2 separate regions of the Homo sapiens genome follow, and region 1 is linked to region 2. The links are contacts of gene promoters, found by promoter capture Hi-C in blood cells and fetal thymus (Javierre and others, 2016). All regions are on one chromosome and are shown on one strand. Each heading gives the region's core, a stretch centred on a gene start or on the middle of the fragment in contact. The rest is flanking DNA. Distances are from core to core; before and after follow the strand shown. Region 1 overlaps MEIKIN (meiotic kinetochore factor). Region 2 holds the start of IL3 (interleukin 3).

Region 1 (3,402 bases), core at 456-2,955, 250 kb after region 2:
CACCCTTCTTCTTGCTATCCTGTAACTTAAAAACTGTGATATAAAGTTAACTATTATTAATACATTGTACATCATATGATAAAGGGATAAGAGAGAGAAGAAAACAAAGATACTTGCCTAACTAATCAGGTGATCGTAACAGGTATTTATAACCACCTTCTTCTATTACCCATGCCATATTCCTTCTGCCTTCAGCAGGCACTTCAGATGGTCATGGTTCTTTACCTGGTGGGTGACACAAACTTTATTTCTGATGGGTCTGGGCCATTAGCAGTCCTGCATGGATTGGGTTGTTGTAGTTTTCCATTAACGTTAATCACAGGGTATGATAAAATTAACAGATACCCTAAGAGATCTCCTGTGTTCCAGACATATTCTTCCTTACCACCATTGTGGAGTAGTAGTTCAGATTCTCCTTGGTAGTCCGGATCAGTCGCCCCAGTCAACACCGTAAGTCGCTTCTTAGCCTATTGACTCCAAAGTGACTGGGGGCAGTCTTAACTTCCAGTTTAATAGAATTAGTCTCCTGTGGAGGAATTTCTCCCTTTGGAACTAAGACCTCTAAGCCAGTGGGGCATAAAATTATGAGAACAGGAAGAATAAATTTTGCTAGTGGGTCACCAGGGTTAATAATGCATGGTGCCACTTTTGTTTCTACCCCTTGATTCCTGGCTATGGAGGGAAAAAAAGTACCATTTATTGGATGCTGATTCAGAGCATATATATAGCCCTCTGGAGAACTCTGCCCTCCCTGCAAGTTATTGCCACCTAGCTGGTGCTATAACTGAATCTTCAAAAGGCCATCCCATCATCCTATTAGGCCAGCTTCTTTAGCATGATAAGGAACATAGACCAGTGAATTCCAGGAGCAATGACTCATACTGAAATTCTTTTGCTGTGACGTGAGTTCCTTGATCAGAAGCAATGTTGTATGGAATATGACAATGGGTAAAGCATTCCATGAGACCATGGATGACAATTTTGGCAGAATTTTGTATGAGGAAGGCAAATCTGTATCGAGGGTCTGTTCTAGTAAGAACAAAATGCTACCCCTTCCATGATGGAAGTAGTTCAATGTAATCAACTACAAAGCTGACTGAGCACCCAGAGGAATAGTGCCATACTTGGAGTCAGTGTTGTTGTCTGCTGCTGACTGGTTGGGCCCTCAGCAGTGGCATCCAGGTTGGCCTTGGATAGTGGAAATCCATATTGCTGAGCCTATGTATGACCTCCATTCTTGCCACTGTGGCCACTTTGTTCATGAGCCATGAACAAAGAGGATACCAGTTAGCCTCTTTCCCCAGCCCTGTTCTGACAGAGGTGGCTGGAATAGAGACTGACTGGTTTCCACAGACTTGATTATCCTATATTCACTTCATTATTAAAATCCTCCTCTGCTAAGATCACCTTTGGTGAGAATTTTATGGCATACATCCTTCTTTTCTTTTCTTCTTTTCTTTTTTTTCCCATTGAGAGAGGTCTGTCCTGGGTGGGTGTGATGGCTCATGCCTGTAATCCCACCGCTTTGGGAGGTTGAGGCGAGTGGATCGCTTGAGCCCAAGAGTTTGAGACCAGCCTGGGCAACATTGTGAAACCATCTCTTCAAAAAAATACAGAAATTAGCCAGGTGTGGTGGTGCACTCCTGTAGTTCCAGCTACTTGGGAGGCTGAGGTGGGAGGATCACCTGAGCCCGAGGAGGTGGAAGCTGCAGTAAGCTGTAATCACGCCACTGCACTGCAGCCTGAGCAATAGAGTGAGATCCTGTCTCAAAAAAAAAAAAAAAAGATCTGTCCAATGCCTCCTTTCAAATTTTTCAGTCCACTTGTGATGGATTACTGAGTGTCAACTTGATTGAATTAAAGGATGCAAAGTATTGTTCCTGTGTGTGTCTGTGAGGGTATTGCCAAAGGAGATTAACATTTGAGTCAGTGGACTGGGAGAGGCAGACTCACCCTCAATTTGGTGGGCATCATCTATCTAATCAGCTACCAGCATGCCAGAATAAAAGCAAGCAGAAGAATGTGAAAAGATTAGACTGGTTTAGCCTCCCAACCTACATCTTTCTCTGATGCTGGATGCTTCCTGCCCTCTAACATCGAACTCCAAGTTTTTCAGCTTTGGGACTCGGACTGGCTTCCTTGCTCCTGAGCTTGCAGATGGCCTATTGTGGGACTCTGCGATCATGTGAGTTAATACTCCTTAATAAACTCCCTTTTATGTATATATATTGTATTAGTTCTGTCCTTCAGAGAACCCTGACTAATACAATGTTCTTTCCAAGTCCCTGACCATACAGCCAAATCATTGGCTACCACTCTAGAATACAGTTAAAGATCGGCTGGGCACGGTGGCTCAAGCCTGTAATCCCAGTACTTCGGGAGGCTGAGGCGGGCGGATCATGAGATCAGGAGATCGAGACCGTCCTGGCTAACACAGTGAAACCCCGTCTCTACTAAAAATACAAAAAAATTAGCCGGGCATGGTGGCGGGTGCCTGTAGTCCCAGCTACTCAGGAGGCTGAGGCAGGAGAATGGCGTGAACCCGGGAGGCGGAGCTTTCAGTGAGCCAAGATCATGCCACTGCACTCCAGCCTGGGTGACAAAGCAAGACTCTGTCTCAAAAAAAAAAAAAAAGAATATAGTTAAATATCTGGTTATTTCTCCTTTCAACAAAGCACACAACCGGGTGCACTCCTCTCAGTTCTGCCCACTGGGAGGACTTATCTTCACCAATTTCCTTTAGGGATGTCCCAGAAAGAAATTGTAGGTGCTCTAACTGTCGACTTTAAGGCAGTACCTGCATATCATAGAGAACCATTTGTAAATCAAATATGAGTTTTCTCTTCCTCAGTCAACTGATTGTAGAGAACTCCTCATGTCATCTTCAGAGCAGGCAGTGAGAAAAAAGGTAATGTAGCCAGGGTGGGGGCCATGGACATTTGGGTCACTTCCTCATGTTACTTACTTATGACTTCAGGGCCTGCTCAAGCTCAATTTTACATAAACCACTTCCATTTGATAATGGAGTGCTGCCATTAACACCAAATTTATGACTTGGTAGGTCAGACAGCACATAGTTCATGATAGGCAGTGTGGGTCACATGGTAACTTGATGGCCTATGATTAAGTGCTTAGTTGCTACTAAAATTTGGCAATAAGCCAAAAGCTGTTTCTCAAAAGAGTAGTTTTCCACTGAGGATGGAAGGACTTCACTCCAAAATCCTAAAGGTTCACCCTGGGAGTCACCTGCAGGGACCTGCCAAAGGCTCCAAGCAGCGTTTCTATCTGCCACTAACACTACAAGCACCGTTGGATCTGCTGGATCATTTGGCACAATTTTCAGAGCAGCTCCACAGCAACCTCGACCTATTGCAGATGATTCTCTTGTTCTGGGCCTCCCTT
Region 2 (3,408 bases), core at 146-2,645:
TGGCTCAAGCCTGTAATCCCAGCACTTTGGGAGGCCGAGGCAGGCAGATAACCTGAGGTCGAGTTCAAGACCAGCCTGACCAATATGGTGAAACCCCGTCTCTACTAAAAATACAAAAATGGGAGTGGTGGTGCATGCCTGTAATCCTAGCTACTTGGGAGGCTGAGACAGGAGAATTGCTTGAACTCAGGAGGCAGAGGTAGCAGTGAGCTGAGATCGTGCCACTGCACTCCAGCCTGGGCAACAGAGTGAGACTCTTGTCTCAAAAAAAAAAAAAAAAATGGGTGGGGAGGGGGTACCTAGGTGGATCTTTCTGCACTTGGGGGAAAAAATATCTCCAAAAAGAAGCTCTACAAAAGACAGGGGGTTTTCCAAGGGAAGTATTTGTAGCTCAGAGGCTGATAACAGTGTTCATGCCCTGACTGAATTAAAGTCTCCTAGAAATCAAGAAGAAAATCACAGAGACCCCAGCATGGAAATGGGTGCAGCATGTGAGCTGTGAGTGCCCCAAACACAGATGGCCCAGGAACTCAGCAAAGGCTTCCACTTCTTGTTTGACCCAAGAAATGTCATGCAAAGGTGAGACAGAACAACTGCAACCAACTGGAACCATGAAAAATAACTGTAAATGATAATGCCACAGCCAATGAGGGTGGAAAACACAAACTCAATTTTTTAAGGGAAAAAGAAGCTGGCACATCTGAGGGGGAAATTTCTGTCTGTCAGTCCAGAGTCTGCCCTACCAAACACTGACCTTAAGGCCCTTGGTATTCCTCACCTAGAACTGCCTTTTCATTTTCTAATTTAAAAGTCATTTTCATTATTATAGCCATGGCTGTGGCCATGTATTGAACTCTTAAGTGCCAGATGCTGGGCCAGAACATGCACATTGTGCCATTTGATTGTCATAACAATCCCACTGAGATAGGTGCTATTAACCCTATTTTACAGATGAAGAAAGCAAGGCTAGGTAAGATGGAATGACATGGCTGAAGTCACCCAGGCAGGAAGTGGATCGGGATCCACGGGCTGAGCTCTTACCATCAGAATGTCTTGGTCTTCCCCATTGAGGTTGTTGAAGTCCTGTGGGGGTGAAGGGAGAGAAAGGCCCATGAGGCCTTTTGGCCTTAGGCAGCCACCACCCCTCACTGCTGCAGGCCAGTCTTATCCAAGCTACTCACCAGCAAAGGCAAAGGTGGCTGCTTTAAGTGTGTTATAATTTCATCGATCATGTTAGAGCAGTTAACCCAGCTTGTCTTCAAGGGCGTTGTCTGGGTCATGGGAGCTTGGAGTCCGGGGCGGACCAGGAGTTGGAGCAGGAGCAGGACGGGCAGGCGGCTCATGTTTGGATCGGCAGGAGGCACTCTGTCTTGTTCTGGTCCTTCGTGGGGCTCTGAAGAGTTGGCAACAGCCTCCCGCCTTATATGTGCAGCAGCAAGGTGCCCACAACCCCGGGCAAGGCGGGGGGAGGTGGTGGTGTGGGGCAGGCGTCGGAAGGATCTTTATCTGACATGGAACCTCCATAGAAAACCACAGACGTAATTATTCATCCATGACTTTCTAGTACTCAAGATCAGTGAAACAAGAAAAAAGATTACTTAAACGGTATCACTTCATCTTGTCAAGGAGGATGAGAGATGGGAAGCATGGCAGCAGGTGAGAGGACCCCTGTGGCAGGAAGGGGAAGCCTGACTCAGCTCACTGAGGCCTCCTGCCCAGTGGGATCTCATCTGCCATCACCTGGACTACCCTGGCCCTCTGCTGCCCGCCCTGCTTGGTCCTGGTGGGTGGCCAGGAGGCCACTGGAACAGATGAGAGTTTGTCTGGTAGCCGGTCACGCTGCTAAACATCCACGTTCAGCCTCAGGCTCTGAGAAGCACATCTCTTGGTGCCGCTTCCCAATACAGAATTACTGGTGTTCCAGTCCCCAGTGGTTTGTCCCATGGGCTTCGGGCAGCTTCTCCTTGACACTTTGTTTCTGGTGGATGGCCGAGGGCGCTCAGGCCCCAGGTGGCCATTCTCTTACTGGTCTGCTAGCAGTGGCATGGCTGTTCCCTGCGTGTGGGACTCAGCCTCTGCAGGAGGCCCGGCTGCAGCCCCTGGCAGTCCCTCTGGTAGCACCGAGAGCTGAGCTCAGGTACCTGAGGACACTGTCACTGGGAGCTGGGGGAGGGGCTGGCCTGGGAGGTTTAGGAGGCAGAATTGGCATGGTCTGAGGGGTGAGGTCAAGGGAGGAGAAAGGAGAGCAACTCCCTGGTTTCAGACTGGGCCTCAGGCTGCTGGGGCAGGGATTGGCAGGAGACAGTTGTATTGAGAGGTCTTGATCCCCGTCTGTGCTGAGCATGGATTTGCCAGGTGCAGGCCCAGTAGGCAAGGTTTGCAGAGAGGGGATGTGAGTGGGGACAGACCATGGGGAAATCCACAAGGGACCTGAGAAACTGCAGCCAGATAGGAAGCAGGAAACCCAGAAGGGCGGGGGTGGTTATCCCAGAGGGCAGCCCCTGAGAGAAGAGGGGTCCTCCTGATACGGGCCTGTCTTGGGGCCTGCCTGACCCACCCCATGGGGTAGGGGCTTTTGGTAAAGGGATGAGTGTGACAGGGGCATGTGGAAGACTTCTTCAAGATGACTGGCCCCGGGTGGGAGGGAGAGGAGAGCAGTAAGGAAAGGCCAGGGTCTGGGTCATGGTGCGGTGTGTTGTGATCAGTGTGGGGGATGCGGGATAGGAGGTTATGCTGAGGCAGCGGAATTTGGGTGCTTTGGGCTTCTGAGCATAAGCAGATCAGGTGAAGACAAGGACCAGGATGTGGCTGTGGGGAGGCAGGTGAAGAGGCTGTGACTCAAGGCCATGCTGTGAGGATGATTTCTGTAGCTGATATGCCCTCCTGGCTCAGCCCCAGGCTGGGCCCTGGACCAGGAAGAGCCCTAGGTTCTGGACCCGGAGTGGAGTCTGACAGGCACAACTCAACACACAGAGGGGAGCCTTAGCACCAGCTTGCGTACTCCGTAGGCACAATTCATTCAACAGACGTCTACAAAGCACTTGCTGTGAATAAAACAGACATGGTAACCTCCACTAGCAGCTCAGTCTTGTGAGGAGACAGATTTCCAGTCTTGCTACCCTTCCTGTGGTCCCAGACCTGCAGGTCAGCCCTGCCCGGGAGCTTGTTAGCGGTGTCAACCCTCAGGCCCCAGCCCAGACTTTCTGAATCAAAAATCGCATTTTGATAAGATCCTCAGTGATTCAGTGCATTTGAGGGGCTCTGATCTAACTACCTCAGCAATCTTAGCTCCGGTAGGGTCCCCTATTGCCCCACGGACCCAGAGTTTGTTCCTTGCATACTCAACTGTACCTTGGTGTTACTGTCTATGTAAACGTTTTGGGGACTTGTGCACAAATAATGTGATTC

What was found. Contacts are between HindIII fragments. The CHiCAGO score rates a contact against its expected background, and 5 or more counts as called.
Region 1: a contact is called between a fragment that was not itself captured here and the fragment with the promoter of IL3 in region 2, in 1 of 17 cell types (megakaryocytes). The highest score is 5.2, in megakaryocytes.

What each region holds. Positions count from the first base shown.
Region 1 is chr5:131,812,662-131,816,063 of GRCh38, reverse strand. All of the region lies in intron 12 of MEIKIN (meiotic kinetochore factor), which reads left to right. Among named protein-coding and RNA genes, the nearest start is that of FNIP1, 17 kb to the right of the region's middle. The HindIII fragment of the contact is 7,329 bases long and covers 1-3,402 here.
Region 2 is chr5:132,058,642-132,062,049 of GRCh38, reverse strand. IL3 (interleukin 3) reads right to left here and starts at 1,395. Exons shown (of 5, transcript NM_000588.4): 1 at 1,182-1,395; 2 at 1,042-1,083. The coding sequence starts at 1,343. It overlaps LOC105379174 (a long non-coding RNA gene), which reads left to right. Exons shown (of 5, transcript XR_001742531.2): 2 at 442-579. The HindIII fragment of the contact is 14,005 bases long and covers 1-3,408 here.